Linked DNA regions of Homo sapiens: regions 2, 3, 4, 5 and 6 are each linked to region 1. Evidence: promoter capture Hi-C in 16 types of primary human blood cells and fetal thymus (Javierre and others, 2016). All regions are on one chromosome and are shown on one strand. The core of a region is centred on a gene start or on the middle of the fragment in contact, and the rest is flanking DNA. Distances in the headings are between cores, read along the strand shown.

The links. The method cuts DNA at HindIII sites, captures the fragments that hold promoters and counts their contacts. A CHiCAGO score of 5 or more calls a contact.
Region 2: a fragment that was not itself captured here is called in contact with the fragment with the promoter of TXNL4B in region 1 in 3 of 17 cell types (non-activated CD4 T cells, activated CD4 T cells and naive CD8 T cells); the score reaches 7.2 in non-activated CD4 T cells.
Region 3: a contact is called between a fragment that was not itself captured here and the fragment with the promoter of TXNL4B in region 1, in 2 of 17 cell types (activated CD4 T cells and total CD4 T cells). The highest score is 6.4, in activated CD4 T cells.
Region 4: the fragment with the promoter of CFDP1 here is called in contact with the fragment with the promoter of TXNL4B in region 1 in 1 of 17 cell types (non-activated CD4 T cells); the score reaches 10.1 in non-activated CD4 T cells.
Region 5: a contact is called between a fragment that was not itself captured here and the fragment with the promoter of TXNL4B in region 1, in 1 of 17 cell types (non-activated CD4 T cells). The highest score is 6.6, in non-activated CD4 T cells.
Region 6: a fragment that was not itself captured here is called in contact with the fragment with the promoter of TXNL4B in region 1 in 1 of 17 cell types (activated CD4 T cells); the score reaches 5.8 in activated CD4 T cells.

Annotation. Positions count from the first base shown.
Region 1 is chr16:72,092,307-72,095,006 of GRCh38, reverse strand. It overlaps TXNL4B (thioredoxin like 4B), which reads left to right and starts at 1,387. Exons shown (of 4, transcript NM_017853.3): 1 at 1,387-1,640. It overlaps DHX38 (DEAH-box helicase 38), which reads right to left and starts at 1,160. Exons shown (of 27, transcript NM_014003.4): 1 at 956-1,160. RefSeq lists enhancers at 865-1,164, 1,225-1,274, 1,285-1,614. The HindIII fragment of the contact is 4,501 bases long and covers 1-1,853 here.
Region 2 is chr16:75,556,159-75,558,858 of GRCh38, reverse strand. It overlaps TMEM231 (transmembrane protein 231), which reads left to right and starts at 2,607. Exons shown (of 7, transcript NM_001077418.3): 1 at 2,607-2,700. The coding sequence starts at 2,650. RefSeq lists enhancers at 2,177-2,286, 2,317-2,396 and a silencer at 2,437-2,546. The HindIII fragment of the contact is 1,045 bases long and covers 773-1,817 here.
Region 3 is chr16:75,468,283-75,470,982 of GRCh38, reverse strand. No RefSeq gene overlaps it. Among named protein-coding and RNA genes, the nearest start is that of TMEM170A, 4.9 kb to the right of the region's middle. The HindIII fragment of the contact is 1,443 bases long and covers 577-2,019 here.
Region 4 is chr16:75,432,138-75,434,837 of GRCh38, reverse strand. It overlaps CFDP1 (craniofacial development protein 1), which reads left to right and starts at 1,335. Exons shown (of 7, transcript NM_006324.3): 1 at 1,335-1,549. The coding sequence starts at 1,486. RefSeq lists enhancers at 729-1,296, 840-1,349 and a silencer at 1,660-1,899. The HindIII fragment of the contact is 10,360 bases long and covers 1-2,700 here.
Region 5 is chr16:75,619,342-75,622,041 of GRCh38, reverse strand. ADAT1 (adenosine deaminase tRNA specific 1) reads left to right here. Exons shown (of 10, transcript NM_001324445.2): 2 at 1,222-1,411; 3 at 1,708-1,776. The coding sequence starts at 1,243. Among named protein-coding and RNA genes, the nearest start is that of ADAT1, 2.6 kb to the left of the region's middle. RefSeq lists enhancers at 1-7, 8-528 and a silencer at 597-891. The HindIII fragment of the contact is 2,243 bases long and covers 195-2,437 here.
Region 6 is chr16:75,642,372-75,645,071 of GRCh38, reverse strand. All of the region lies in intron 1 of KARS1 (lysyl-tRNA synthetase 1), which reads left to right. Among named protein-coding and RNA genes, the nearest start is that of KARS1, 3.9 kb to the left of the region's middle. The HindIII fragment of the contact is 3,555 bases long and covers 1-2,700 here.

The DNA.
Region 1 (2,700 bases), core at 138-2,637:
ACATTTTGAAAATGCCATCAGGCAGAACAGAAAAAAAGAAAGCTGCATATTGGTGACATCTGTGCGCATGTGAGGAAATCCACACAAGAAGGTAAAGATATACAGGCTCTACTCAATAGTTGTCTAAACTAGGAAAGGTACCCTGGACTGCCATTCTACGCAGTTGAGAGAACACTGGATGTGTTGTTGACTGCTGTAGCTCAATGTCTAGCAAAATAAGCGTTTGATAAATTAAAAAATGAATTAATTTAAACTTATTAAAGGAGGACAGGAACCCAAACATTTCTGGAGACAGCAAGGGAAGATTCCAGCAACACAGGACAAGGAGACAGCCAGAGAGAACTTCATTAGCTGCTGAGACGAACAAATAAGGAGCTAAAGAGCAAGATTCTTGAGAAGGATTAATGGCAAAGAAACTACAAGGCGTACGAGAAAGCCAGGGAAGAAAGAACCTGGATTCATTCATTCAACAATTATTCACTGAGGGTGTCCCTGAGCCAATTGCTGTTCTCGGCGATAGCAACAGAGAACAAGACAAAAATCCCCGCCCACCTGGAGCTGACATTCTAGTAGAAGAGATCGCCCACCAGATTGCCTGGTATAAATGACACTGTGAGAGAGCAGAGGAAGACACAAGGAGTCCTACTCGGGCTCGGTGACAGTCTGGGGTGGGTTAAAGCGGAGGCCTGGGAGAGGGACCAAGGCCACTCCAGGCAGCATCCCTGGATCTCAGCGAGGCCGCTCCAGGCAGCAGGATTTGACCAGAGCAAGGAGGAAGGCCAAGGCGGCCAGGACGGATGCAGCATCCCTGAGGTGAGTAAGGCAAGGTGGGTGACAGGGACGACAGAGGAACTCCCCAAACTGGGGCCCGGACCTGAGCAGGGGACCAATATCCGCCGCCTAGAGCCGCCATGATTACAGAAGGGCAGGCCAGGAAGGAAGAAGGGACTCTCACCTCACCAAGCGCGACTCTTGGGACCCTTCTGTCCCGGATTCTGGGGCGCCGGCGCTGCCACCCCTCGCTCAGACAGGCTCAAGGAGCCAAAATCCACACCTTGAAAGCGGCCATTATTGTCCCTTAATACTTTGCGCGCCCCCTCTATCCGCCCAAAGCTACCATAGAGAGCAGCCTGGAACACGCCCGATTCCTGGATCCAAGTGTGGAACGGTACGCCAACAGGCTCTCAAGGCCTCCTCTGGGGCTCTGATCAGACACTTCCGAGTCTCCTTGTGACCAATCACTCTTAGCCTAAGAGACTACATCCCGCCTCTAGTCTGGGGGCAGGAAAAGGAGGGGAAAAAGGTCGACCATCTTTAATACGGGCGGAGGTGACGCCTAGCTTCCGGTCAGAGCCGAGCAAGGTGGGCGGTGACTAGAAGCTCTTCCGTTTATTGGGCTGTTGAGCGGGGGCCGACCGACGGCCAGGAGTTTCTTTTCTGCGCTTGTGCGTTTTCTGTTCGGTTTCCTTCCCGCTAGCGGGGCCACGAGGGTTGCTAGGCAACAGCCCCTGGGTGACTTGGTCTTAGGGTCCTGTCCGGCTTGGGGCTGATGAAAGGAGCTGTCCGCGCCCGGGCTCTTCCGAGAAGTGGTTGCTGACAGCCACAAAGTGAAAGGGAGTGAGGCGGCGTGGACGAGTAAGGTAAGTGCTGGGGTCCCTTAGCGCTTGTGGGCCAGGAGCAGCGCAACACAGGTGACTTTAAATATGTATATCGGATATTTTGGAAAATGGAGATGCGCGCCCGGCTGTAAATAAAAATCACCCATGCGTTCACACGCAGAGATGACCACTGATTTCCAGTTGTTTTTCTGGAATACATTGTAGTAAGATTCTGTACAAAAGTGAGTTCAAGCTTTTTTTCTTTTTTTGGTGTTTCTGCAGTTGTGGCGCGCGCCTGAGGTTCCAGCTACTCGGGAGGCTGAGGCGGGAGGATTGCTTGAGCCTGGGGAGTTGAGACCAGCCTGGGCAACATAGCGAAACCCCGCCTCAGAAAAAGAGAGGGAGAGAGGAAAGCAGTGGAGTTATTGGTCAAAGAGTATGTCAGTTTTCTTTCCAGAAAGGTTTTGTGTCTGCATTCCAGCAGGAACTCCCTGTGCCTGCCCCTACCACTATCTTGTTTAATTTTTGCCAATTCAGTGACTTTGTAAACATATGTTTTAATTTGCTTTTCTTTGCTTACTGGTAAAGCTTAACTTTTTAGTTTATTTACTGTCCATTTGTACGTCTTCTTTTGGGAATTCTCTGTGGGTATCATTTACTATGGACATTTTCTTAGATGTGGTCTCAGTTTTCCTCTCCTGCTTCCAACGTTTGTCCAGTTGCACCCCTAGCCTCACCACTAACAACTTTGTTCTCCCCTTACTTTCTCCTTTCGATCAGTAACACGGAGGAACTGCTGTTTGTTTGAATTCTAGTGGGACAGATCCGTCTTCTCTTTGACCTTCCCTTTCATTGGTAATTTGTTCTGCTGCTCACATCTGATGACGTCCCTTTGGGCCATCAATGTCCCTGTTTAAAGTATGACCTATAGCTGGAACAATCTTATTTCCTATGTGAATTTTAGTTAAATAATTCCTTTTTTTTTTTTTGGAGACGGAGCTTCGCTCTTGTTGCCTTGCCCAGGCTGGAGTGCAGTGGAGCGATCCTAGCTCACTGCAACCTCCGCCTCCAGGGTTCAAGCAATTCTCCTGCCTCAGCCTCC
Region 2 (2,700 bases), core at 46-2,545, 3.5 Mb before region 1:
ATTTACAATCTGTTCTCTCTGAAGCCTGGAGGCTTCATCTGCATGATAAAACATTAGACTCCACAACCCCTTATTGTTTTTTGTTTTTGTTTTTTTTTTGAAATGGAGTCTCACTTTGTCACCCAGGCTGAAGTGCAGTGGTATGATCTCGGCTCACTGCAGCTGCTGCCTCCCGGGTTAAAGCAATTCTCCTGCCTCAGCCTCCCAAGTAGCTGGGATTACAGGTGGACACCGCCAGATGCAGCTAATGTTTTTTTTTTTAATACATATTTTTGGTAGAGACAGGGTTTCACCATGTTGGCCAGGCTGGTCTTGAACTCCTGACCTCAAGTGATCTGCCTGCCTTGGCCTCCCAAAGTGTTGGGATTACAGGCGTGAGCCACTGTGCCCCGCCCACAAACCCACACATTCCTTTCTATTGATTCCAGGTCTTTAGATAATAACCAGTTGACAATTGGAAAAATCTCTGAATCTGCCAATTCTGTGGTCTGGAAGCCCCACCCCACCTCCACTTGTCTCATCTTTCAGTACTGAACCAATGTACATCTTACACGTATTGATTGATGTCTTATGTCTCCCTAAATGTATAAACTCAAGTTATACCCTATCCACCTTGGGCGTATGTCATCAGGACCTCCTGAGGCTGTGTCACAGGCATGTCCTTAACCTTGGCAAAATAAATTTCTACGTTGATTGAGACTTGTCTCAGATACATTTTGGTTTACACTACTGACATGCTGTCATTAGAGTGACTTTTCCAAATCACAAAGCTTATCATGTCTTTCCACTTAAATGTCATTTTACTGACCCTTTAACAAATTTACTTATATTTAAATATTTTGTATTTATTTTTTTAGAGACAAGGTCTCCTTCTGTCTCCCAGCCTGGAGTGCAGTAGTGCATTCATGGCTCACTGCAGCCTCCTGGGCTCAAGCCTTCCTCCTGCCCAGGCCTCCCGAGTAGCTGGACCTACAGGCATGAGCCACTGTGCTCAGCCACTCAGGACCTTTTTGTTGTTGTTGTTGTTGTTTGAGATGGAGTCTCGCTGCCACCCAGGCTGGAGTCCAATGTGTGATCTCCGCTCACTGTAATCTGTGCCTCCCGGGTTCAAGCGATTCTCCTGCCTCAGCCTCCAGAGTAGCTGGGATTACAGGTGCCCATCACCATGCCTGGCTAATTTTTGTATTTTTAGTAGAGATGAGGGTTCACCATGTTGGCCAGGCTGGTCTTGAACCCCTGACCTCAGGTGATCCGCCCACCTTGGCCTCCCAAAGTGTTGGGATTACAGGCGTGAGCCACCGTGCCCAGCCATTCAGGGCCATTTGATGAAGAAATTGGCTGTGGACCATAGATTTTTTTAAAAAGTCCTTCTACCATGTTAGAAATATTGGTTGGGGGTGGTGGCGGGGGGGTGTAGGCATTCAATTAAGCAATAAGCCAGTGATCTTTGGGGAGGACCATATATTCCTGTAAAACTCGCGGCTGAGCTGTACCCAACACAGGGTTAACGAAGTGCATCAGAGCTTTGTAGTAATTCCACTCTATCCGTGGAAGAGCCAGGGGATTTGTGTTTCCGTGTCTGTCTTGCATGGGAGCATAGTGGAAGCAACAGAAAATCTGGGGGCAAAAGCACCTGGCTTTGATCTCAGCCCAGGACCAGGTCCAGGACCACGGCCAGGCTTGTGACTGACTGGACTTCAGTAGGAACCACACTGGGGGTTAACAGATGACACAAAAGCAGGTGTTCGTTCTGTGCGGGAGACGCGCTAGGGGAGAAGAAAAGGCACACACACAGTACCTTTAAGGGTAAGCAAGCTTTATCCCACGTAAATGGCAATGCAGATATTATAATAAGCAAATTAATATAATAAGCAGATTGATATAATAAGCAAATTGCAATGGGAAGAGGAGAAGGAAAAAGACATATATATATATATATTTACACTCACCAGACTATGGAGGATTCACCTCCAGACTGGGAAGCAACGACCTGGGCTCCAGAGCCGGCCACTCGTCAGTGCACAGACGAGGAGAGGTCTCATGAAGCTTTTTGGCGTGGTCTGGGACCCTAGATCTTTTTGTAACATGTTGTCTAGCATGAGGCCCAGTCACGAGGGCCCTTTGCGACTGGGCTCAAGGAACACAAAAAGGTCAACTTGTTTTTGCGATTGTTGTTTTTCAATAACTGACGTATAGGAGTAGACTGAAATAGAGATTTCTCCGAAACAGCGCTGGATGAACGCCTCAAGGGGCTCCCACAACCTGTTTAGGGACTTGGTGACCATTGTTTGTGTCCATGTCAGTTGAAATTTAAATATTTAGTTCTTCCTCCTCAGTGTTCAAGTCAACTTTTATGGGCATCTTATTTTACACAAATGTTAACACAGACAACAGCCACGACTCTGGTCCACGGAAACGTTCTATCGCCGCCCAGCCTTTACGCAAACGTACACAGCTCGAAAAGCTAGGCCGACCGTCCCCGGCAGCGCCACGCCCGCTAACCCCGCCCCCGCCACTGGCTCCTTTCGGTGCGGCCTTGCTATTGGCTCCTTTCTGTGAGCCGTCGGTTGCCGTGGAGACCGAGGCGATGGCAACCAGGAGAAGCCAAACTTGGTCCCCCGGCTCGCGGAGTGCCTGCGAGCGGTGCTCATGGCGCTCTATGAGCTCTTCTCTCACCCGGTCGAGCGCAGTTACCGCGCG
Region 3 (2,700 bases), core at 49-2,548, 3.4 Mb before region 1:
GTGAAACCCAGTCTCTACTAAAAATATAAAAATTAGCTGGGCATCGTGGCATGCACCTGTAGTCCCAGCTACTCAGGAGGCTGAGGCAGGAGAATTGCTTGAACCCGGGAGGCGGAGGTTGAATTGAGCCGAGATGGCGCCAAAGGACTCCAACCTGGGCGACAGAGCGAGACTCCATCTCAAAAACAAACAAAACAAAACAAAACAAAACAAAAACCAGCCAGGCGCAGTGGCTCACGCCTGTAATCCCAGCACTTTGGGAGGCCGAGGCAGGCAGATCATGAGGTCAGGAGTTCGAGACCAGCCTGGCCAACATGGTGAAACCCCATCTCTACTAAAAATACAAAAATTAGCCAGGCGTGGTGGTGGTGGTGCACGCTTGTAATCCCAGCTAATCAGGAGGCTGAGGCAGGAGAATCGCTTAAACCTGGGAGGCGGAGGTTGCAGTGAGCTGAGATCGCGCCACTGCACTCCAGCCTGGGCGATAGAGTGTGACTCTCTCAAACAACAACAACAACAACCCTGCCCTTCAGGAACTTGCATTCTGATGGTGGGGAGATAGCTGATGAATAAGCTTAATAAATGGCTACATTATTTAGCATATTAGAAAGTGCCAAGGATTAAAGTAGAGAAGGATCGGGGGATGAGGAATATATGTGTGTAGAGGTGTGAGTTGTAATTTTTAATGGGGTGATCAGGGTAGGTCTCAGTGAGAAAGCGACATTTGAGGAAAGTCTTACAGGAGGTGAGGGAGTATGTTAAGGGCAATCATGGGTAGCCTGTCTGGGAGCAGGAAAGAGCTAACACAAAAGCCCTAAGGAGGGGAGGCATCTGGCTTGTTGAAAGAGCAGCAAGGGGCCAGGGGGTCTGGTGTGCTGGACCGCCTCCTTGGCTTCCTTAGACAGGGCCCAGGAAACCTCCATTTTCTGAGTCCTGCAAGGCTAAATGTCTTTTTTTAACCTGTCAATTCATAAATGAACTAAAGATCGAATTCTAAATTCAAAATAATGTTTCCTAATGTAATACATAATTGATTATGTAACCCTACAATAATTGATTTCTTCCACTTTTTTTTTTTTTTTTTTTTGAGACGGAGTCTCGCTCTGTTGCCCAGGCTGGAGTGCAGTGGCGCGATCTCTGCTCACTGCAAGCTCCACCTCCCGGGTTCACGCCATTCTCCTGCCTCAGCCTCTCCGGTAGCTGGGATTACAGGCGCCCACCACCACGCCCAGCTGATTTTTTTTTTTTTTTTTTTTTTTTGAGACAGAGTCTCATTTTGTTGCCCAGACTGGAGTGCAATGGCACGATCTCGGCTCCTGCAACCTCTGCCTCCCGGGTTCAAGTAATTCTCCTGTCTCAGCCTCCCAAGTAGCTGGGATTACAGGCGCATGCCACCAGGCCCGGCTAATTTTTGTATTTTTAGTAGAGATGGGGTTTCACCATGTTGGTCAGGCTGTTCTGGAACTCCTGACCTCGTGATCTGCCTGCCTCGGCCTCCCAAAGTGCTGGGATTACAGGTGTGACCTACCACACCTGGCCCTTTTTCTTTTTTTTTTTTTTTTTTTGAGACAGAGTCTTGCTCTGTCGCCCAGGTTGGAGTGCAATGGTGCGATCTCGGCTCACCGCAACCTCCACCTCCCAGGTTCAAGCAATTCTCCTGCCTCAGCCTCCTGAGTAGCTGGGATTACAGGCACATGCCACCATGCCCGGCTAATTTTTGTATTTTTAGTAAAGACGGGGTTTCACCATGTTGGTCAGGTTGGTCTCAAACTCCTGACCTCGTGATCCACCCGCCGCAGCCTCCCAAAGTGCTGGGATTACAGGCATGAGCCACCACGCCCAGCGGTTTCTTCCACTTCTAATAGACTCTGCTAGTCTGGGAAATGTACCAAAAAGACAGCATGGTTAAAAGGTCAGTATTTCCTGACCCTTTTTATACTTCCTATTTTTATTTTAGATAGGTTTCTTGGTTGATGCAAAACGCCAATTGTAGTGGTAGGGAACTGGCAGGAGGAAGCTTCCTAAACGGAGGTTTCAAGAGAGACTTCTGTTTCTTTTTTTTTTTTTTTTTTTTTTTGAGACGGAGTCTCGCTCTGTCGCCCAGGATTGAGTGCAGTGGCGCAATCTCAGCTCACTGCAAGCTCCACCTCCTGGGTTCACACCATTCTCCTGCCTCAGCCTCCCGAGTAGTTGAGACTACAGGCACCTGCCACCACGCCCGGCTAATTTTTTTGTATTTTCAGTAGAGACGGGGTTTCACCGTGTTAGCCAGGGATGGTCTCGATCTCCTGACCTCGTGATCCGCCCGTCTCTGCCTCCCAAAGTGCTGGGATTACAGGTGTGAGCCACCACGCCCGGCCTTTTTTCTTTTTGAGATGGAGTCTGGCTTTGTTGCCCACGCTGGAGTGCAGTGGCTCCCGGGTTCAAGCAATGCTCTTACCTCAGCCTCCTGAGTAACTGGGACTACAGTCACACACCACCATTCCCAGTTAATTTTTTCTATTTTAGTAGAGATGGGGTTTCACCATGTTGCTCAGGTTGGTCTGGAACTCCTGAGCTCAGACAATTTGCCTGCTTCAGCCTCCCAAAGTGCCAGAATTACAGGTGTGAGCCACCGCGCCCGGCTCAGGAGAAAATTCTAATAAACAGTCTTGCTAATGTTCTTGAATTAAGAGGAAAATATGGGTTGGGTGTGGTGGC
Region 4 (2,700 bases), core at 86-2,585, 3.3 Mb before region 1:
AGTGTTCAGCTTCTGGGATGAAGCAGTTGTGGAACCAATCAGACATCATCCACACTTTTTTGTTCCACCTCCAATAGACTGGCAGATGGTTCACGTATTTCCCGTTAAGTGCTTGTGGATTTTGGGTTCTTTACACCATTAGGAGTTTGCACTTTAGTCGCTCTTGGCATTGGCGCACAATAACAAGGGTGCATGATCCTGGCATGATTTAAAGCCAGGGGCTTTGGAGGCCGTTTGCATTATATAGGTTCGTTTGCCAACATCCTTGTAAAATAAGCCAGTCTCATCCGCATTGAAAACCTGCTCTTTCACATAACCCTTTTCCTGTATAACACTTAGCAAGTATTTTTAAAATTCTTCCGCAGCCTCCTGATCTGCAGAGCTCGCCTCACCTGCAAGTTTAACATTTTTCACCCCGTATCGCCTTTTGAAACGCGCGAGCCGGCCAGCACTCGCCGAGAAGGGCTTAGCATTTCTTTGACTCTGGGTAACGTGACCACAGATATCTTTGGCTTTCAGCCTCACCACAATGCTGTCCACTATGTTTTTTTTAATCGATTGACATCTCATGAATCCACAAATTTAGCCGCTTTTCCATCTTTTCCATCTTTGTCATAGCTTCATCACGCACGATGGAGGTCACTTCAGCACTATCCGGAGCGGCCTCACGGACAGATCGGTGAATTTCCTTTTCCTTTTTCTTGATGTACCGGATTGTCGACTCGTTAACATTGAGCTCATGGCCAACAGCACTGTAACTCATGCCTGATTGGAGCTTATCCAACACGCGGACTTTCTCCGTAAGGCACATCACGGTCTTCTTTCGCTTAGGAACACTGGGCAGAGCTTAAGCACTACGCTTGGGGGCCATTTTAGAAAGCAAAACCACCCACAAAAAGCAGAAAAAAAAGTGTCAGTAAACAGACTGCGGAAAGGACTCTTTGTTTACAGCACAGGAGCTGCGACTAGAAGGCGGCGCTTCTCCCAGTTCAAACTTCAGCTGGGAACCTTACCTCCGCCAACTCCAAATTTTCACCCTCTGCGCATGCCCGGGAAGAACCCCAGACAGTACCGTGATGATTGATTTTAGGGTTACAAATACATTTTAGCAAGTAAGTGAATTTGGCATTACGAATTAATGATTAATGAAGGTCACCTGTATTTCCATAGATATGTAATTTTATTTAAGCAGGTTTATTATATTAAGGCGGCGAGGCAGCGCCGAAGACTACAAGTTCCAGCATGCACCGCGTCCGGGCGGGTTCGGGCTCCCAGCGAGGGCTTCAGGGACGCCAGCCCGGAGGCATCGGCCGGAAGTGTCGTAGGGCAACCACGTAGTACTCTCTGCGCATGTGCAAAGCGCTGTCGGGGGCCGCCCTAGCTGCCGTCGCCGCCGCCGGGGCTCTATGGTCTCTCCCTAGAGCTTTGCCGTTGGAGGCGGCTGCTGCGGTCTTGTGAGTTTGACCAGCGTCGAGCGGCAGCAACATGGAGGAATTCGACTCCGAAGACTTCTCTACGTCGGAGGAGGACGAGGACTACGTGCCGTCGGGTGAGCGATTCCGCCTGAGGCGAGAAGCGAATTGCCCCGCCCCACGCCTCACGTGAGGCGCGCTCTGCCCCCGCGGGCGTCTGCCCTGTGGCCCAGGTGGTCCAGGGGGGCTCCTGTTCTCGAGCGTCCGCTCCCTCAGGCCCCTCATCCTCGGCCGCTCCGGCCCGAGGCGTGTGCGCGTGGCGGTTCTGTGCTCCCCTCCCGTTGGGCAGCTCCGGCCGCCGCCCCCTCTTGCAGCGCGGGAACCGGCACATGGACACGGCCCCTTGTCGCTAGGGACGCTCGTCGGTCAGCCCCGAACGACACCGCTGCTTCAGAAGTCGGGGCGGCAGTCCGAGCCTTGGAGGTTTTTTTCAGCCCTGGCCCGAGAGAGCTGCTGGCCACCACCCCGTCCAAGATAGAGCTGTCCGCTCTCCGCCTGGTTGTTAGAAAGTTCTGATAGAAAGTTCCCCCTTTGATGCTTTTTGCCTCATTGTGACGTCCACCCATCCTCTCCTCTCAGAACTTTCTTTCCTTAGGGATCTCAACCCGAACGGGGTGAGAATGAATCTTACTGAAGAAATCTTTCTGTTCCCCCTTCTTGGTCTTCCCCAGACAAACCGTCTCGTTGAAAGTATCTTCACCCATTCACATCTTCAGTTGAAAGACTAGACAAACAAGAAACAAACAGACTAACAAAACACAACCCAGGAGTCGTCCCTATTCTCTTTGTTTTACTTTGTTCTGTTCTGTTTTATTTAAAGACAGGGTCTTGCTGTTGTCTAGGCTGGAGTGCAGTGATGCGATCTTGGCTCACTGCAACCTCAGACTCCTGGGCTCAAGCGATCCTCCCGTCTCAGCCTCTGGAGTAGCTGGGACTGCAGGTGCAGGCTGCCACGCCCGCTAATTTTTTAAATTTTTTTTTTTTTTTTTTTTTTTAGAAATGGCATCTTGCTATGTTGCCCAGGCTGGTCTCGAACTCGTGGGCTCAAGTGATCCTCCCACCTCAGCCACCCAAAGTGCTGGGATTACAGGCATGAGCCACCGCGCCCCGGCTAGTGAAGTATTTCTAAAAGGCACGTTGAAAACTAGCCATTCCATTCCTGGCGCGGTGGCTCATGCTTGTAATCCCAACACTTTGGGAGGCTGAGGTGGGTGGATCACAAGGTCTG
Region 5 (2,700 bases), core at 67-2,566, 3.5 Mb before region 1:
AGTAGCTGGGACTACAGGCACGCGCCATCACGCCCGGCTAATTTTTTTGTATTTTCAGTAGAGACAGGGTTTCACCACGTTGGCCAGGCTGGCCTCGAACTCCTGACCTCAGGTGAGCCACCGCGCCCGGCCTTCAGTTTGGTTTTACAGTGCTTAGCTATGTCTATCACAAGCTCATCTTCTACTGGGAAGCTTTTTGTATAATTGAGTCCAAATGAGATCAGGATGTGCCTAGTGAGCATTGATAGGGCCAAGAGTGAGAGATTTCCCTGCAAAGTATCCTAGGGATCTGCTTGATGGTTTTTTAATTCATGGCTTTCTATGCCCATTACAGCCCTCCCCCTTTCACCCCCACCACCAGGTAGCTCAAGGCAAATTAACCAGGAAAATCATCAAATGTTATTTTTTGTAATAGTAATCACAGTTGACCTTAATTATGCTCAACATAGTAGCAATTGCTTTTTATAAGTATTACTTATTTAACCCTCACAGTAACCCTAAGTATTATTTAATCTTCACAATAATCTAAATAGGTTAGATACTATTGTTATCACTATTTTGACAGATGAGGAAACAGACCCAGCAAGGTTAAGTAGTCTATTCAGCATCACAGTTAATTTGTGGCAAAGCCAAAATTAGAACCCAGAAAGGGTGAATCCAAAGTCCACACCCTTAAGTAGAGCTCTATGAGAACACGTAACTGCTGAGAAACATTTCAGTGGGGATTTACTAGAGGGCGGTAGAGAAACACTCTGCTGTAGGGGAAAGGAGAAAAATAAAATGCCTGGAAAAAGAAGACAGATAAGAACATCTGTCCAGAAAGATAAACCTTATACAGTGAGGGTCTGCCCAAAGCAAGTGAGTCTGCAACCCTTTACATGCCGTTTCCAGTGAAAACTGGAGTAGTGAGGACATTTCCTTCTCGTGTCCTTTAATGTTGAGTAGAGGATGCAGACTCCTTAGAAATGTATCAGATATATAACATTAAGAAAAACTTGAAACAATAATTTTGGGGATTGGTAGAATTTGGGGTTTCTTTGATCTTTCATTAAAGATGAAAAGGGGGCAGGGAGATAGTAGAAGAAAATGATCCATAGAGTTCCAGATAGGGAAACCTCGGTCTGCTCCATTTGAAAGACTCGAAGCATGGATATGAGAGGCTGTAGCATCGTGCACTGGTTCTCCTTTCCGTACTTCTGATGGTTGTGGTTTTTGATCAAGGTCTCAATACCAGCTCAGACCATGTGGACCGCGGATGAGATTGCTCAGCTATGCTATGAACACTATGGGATCAGGCTGCCCAAGAAGGGGAAGCCTGAGCCAAACCATGAGTGGACATTATTGGCAGCGGTGGTGAAGATACAATCTCCAGCTGACAAGGCCTGCGACACCCCTGATAAGCCGGTGCAAGGTGAGACTTTTTCTTCTTGGCATGCTCCTCACTGTGAGAGATGGTAAAATTATGCATTGCTGTACTGTGAGGGTACAGTCGTGGGTAGGGTGTGAACTACGATGTTAGGCATATGTGCTTGTCCTCTGCTAGGTGACGCAGTACCTCTGATGGCGGGAGACCGCCATGCTGGAACCGCAGACCTTGGTTGAGTGGGCCTCTGGGAATCCCCTAGAGGAGTGTGCAGGCTGATCACACCTGAACACCGGGGAACATTCCGTTTCTCAGAACTCACACGATTTGTTTTTTTCCCACAGTGACAAAGGAAGTTGTGTCAATGGGAACAGGAACAAAATGCATAGGACAGTCCAAAATGAGGAAGAACGGTAAGCACGGGTGGGAATCTAAACAAAGATTTAGCTTGAAACCAGTGTCCATGTTTTACTCTCCTTGTCAGGGAAGAGGGGCCATGTCAGTTGAGGTGCATGGCATTTGTTTCCTACTGACTATCAGTCCAGTTGGAAGGACCGTACTCACTTGGAGAATGGAAATCCACCATCAAAGCGGAGGCCTCTAGGAACATGCTTTCCGAATAACTGAAAGTTAACCAGTATTTTCATGCTCAAACCACAGAGTCCCTGGGTTTAGCTATTCCACATTAGGTCTGGAAGGCTTTGGGACTCTATAGCAGGTAGAGGATGCAGCTTGAGTGGCTTCTGAAGCCCAAGAAAGCAATCTTTTTTTTTTTTTTTTTTTTTGACTCGGAGTCTCGCTCTGTCACCCAGGCTGGAGTGCAATGGGGCAATCTCGATTCACTGCTCTGCAACCTCCCCTTCCTGGGTTTAAGCGATTCTCCTGCCTCAGCAGGCACCCACCATCACGCCCAGCTAATTTTTGTATTTTTTTAGAGACGGGGTTTCACCATGCTGGCCAAGCTAGTCTTGAACTCCTGACCTCAGGTGATCTGCCCACATTGGCCTCCCAAAGTGCTGGGATTAAAGGTGTGAGCCACCGCACCTGGTAAGCAATCTTGAATGACAGGAAGCTTTGGGCCTCAACAAGAATATGAAAATTCCTTAGAGATCTGGGGGTTTTTATTTGTCTGTTTCAGTGGTTTTTTTTTTTTTAAGAGACAGGGTCTCACTGAAGTACGGTGGTACTATCATAGCTCACTGCAGCCTTGAACTCCTGGGCTCAAGTGATCCTCCCACTTCAGCTTCCTGAGTAGCTGGACTATAGGTGTGCACAGCTATGCACACCTATGTGCAGCTAATTTTTTTCATTTTTATTTTGTAGAGATTTGGTCTCAC
Region 6 (2,700 bases), core at 122-2,621, 3.6 Mb before region 1:
CTCAAATTTATTTGAACACGGTAAAGAAGGTGATCTCTGTAATTCTGTTGCCTTCCAGTGTTGATAATGTATAAACATAACGCAGTCTAAGGACCTTCCTGAAATTCTCCTTTCCCCTTGTTCCTAGAGTTCCAAACAAGTCTTCTCTTTGACACGTATTTTTGTGTGGCTTGCATTTATCTTTGTCTAGAGTTTGCAATTGATAGTGACAGTTTCCTCTTATTTTATATGCTTCCTATTGCCATCTTGTGGCCAGGTATTTCCTCTCCAGGTGAGAAACCACACTTCAGGGCTTCAGAAAGTGCCTCACATCCTGTTCCCATATTCTAGGATGTTGTGAGCAATTTTACCTGTAAGCTATCCATTAACTTGCTGTTGGCTTTACCCCAGATATGCATGTTTTTTCCATAGTCAGGACTAAGAACATTGTCAGTTACAGTTGTAGCACAGAGAGTGTTACAGGGTTGCTATCAGTTAAGACAGTCTTAAGTTAAATGGGACTAAAAGGTAGTAGAAGCATGGTCCCCCTCCCCAACCCATAAGAGAGTTGGTTGGGTATATGTATACTGTCTGTCCCATCTGACACCACATCTCTGTGTTTCCCGCTAGGTGGTGGTAATCATTAGTTCCAGGGTGCTCTGCCATGTTGACGCAAGCTGCTGTAAGGCTTGTTAGGGGGTCCCTGCGCAAAACCTCCTGGGCAGAGTGGGGTCACAGGGAACTGCGACTGGGTCAACTTGCTCCTTTCACAGCGCCTCACAAGGACAAGTCATTTTCTGATCAAAGAAGGTTGGTGCCCATTACCTTCTTTATTGCTCTGGAAGCAAAAATTATTTCCTTACTTGGTTCATTTTCCGTTAAGCCTCTGGCTAAGTCTTTGGACTTGTTGCTAAGGAAACAAGGAGCCCTAATACCAAAACCAATAGTCCTTTCTCATTTTCTCTTTAATAAATTCAAATCGTCTCTCCTTAGAGTCTTGAGATGACATGTGGATCTTATTCTAGAAGAGTGCTAAGAACAAAACCTTTGTTTGAACAAATAATTTCTAATGCCAGCTATTTCCCTTTTCTGTCTTTCTGGAGTTTTGTGTGCTCTTGAGATTAATTTGGTTTCTAGTCTTAGTGCTATCCCTAGGACCTTTTTGGATTATCCTTAAGATTGATTTGATTTAAGAGGAGCACCTGGTTGAGTGGAAAACAGATTTATCTTAATTCTAGAAGAACTAGACAGCCTAATCTTAGCAGTCCACTGACTGAATTATAGCATGATAACACCAGCACAGTGTTTTGGAAAGGTTGTCTTTACAAATGTTATAAGACATTATATGTAGAAAAAGCTGTCAACTTTGAAACCATTCAGAATCTGTTTTTCTTTTTTACAAGATGAAAGATTCGGCCAGGCGTGGTGGCTCACGCCTGTAATCCCAGCACTTTGGGAGGCCAAGACAGGCAGATCACGAGGTCAGGAGATCAAGACCATCCTGGCTAACACGGTGAAACCCCATCTTCACTAAAAATACCAAAAAAATTAGCCGGGCATGGTGGCGGGCACCTGTAGTCCCAGCTACTCCGGAGGCTGAGGCAGGAAAATGGTGTGAACCCGGGAGGCAGAGCTTACAGTGATCTGAGATCGCACCACTGCACTCCAGCCTGGGCAACACAGCGAGACTCTGTCTCAAAAAAAAAAAAAAAAGGTGAAAGATTCAAAACCTCAATTCATTTTTTAAAGTTATTCTAAATTCATATCGAAAATGAAGGATGTGTCCTGAAGCCAGAATGTTTGCGGGCATGACTTGGGATCTTCTGCTGTGGTTCACTATTGCAGAATATTTGATTATGTTCAGCGGTTTGAAAGAATGATCCATAAATTGTCTTTGAATAGTAAAGATATCCCTCCCTACACCAATCTGTTTAGTTTCTGGTTTCAGATAGCAAATTCAGACTATAAGAGACATGAACATATCATACAGAACAGCTCAGAGTTGTCCGCATTACTTTGGTTTTTCAGGTTCAAGTGATAAGTATCAAGAGTTTGGATACCAAGTGATTTAACCAGAAATGTATTTAAATCTATATGAGGCACAGAGAGTAAAGGGTTAAGATACTAAAAGATACCTAGAAAGCTCACATTTGGTTAGCTGAATGCCAGGGTCAGGGTAATCCCTTTATACAAACATTATCTCATTACACACCATAACAACTGGTGGGGGTTGTCTATTATTATTTTCGTTTCACAGGTGAGAAGTTAATTCACTCGTCCAAGTCACATAATTGACAAGTGTGTTGGAATTTAGTCCCAGGCAGCCTGACTACAAAGATGGTATATTACCCCCTGTACTATACTGCTTTGCACACCGTTCTATTTTGTTGTCTAAGTCAGGCTCCAGTGGGCAAAGTGAGACTAATGCTGACAGCCATTCTTGGAGAGACTGTTGGTAGGGGAGGTCTCCTTGAGTGCTAAAGAGCCGGCTCTTCCTTACTATCATCCTAACTCACTCTTAGGGGAGGGATAGAGAGAGGGGGTAGCAGAGGGCTGGAGATGTTGCCTTATCATGTATTAGATCTGGCATTGGAGGGGTCAGGTGGCTCACACCTGTAATCCTAGCACTTTGGGAGGCCAAGGTGGGCAGATCACTTGAGGAAAGGAGTTTGAGACCAGTCTGGCCAACGTGGTGAAACCTCGTCTCACTAAAAATACATA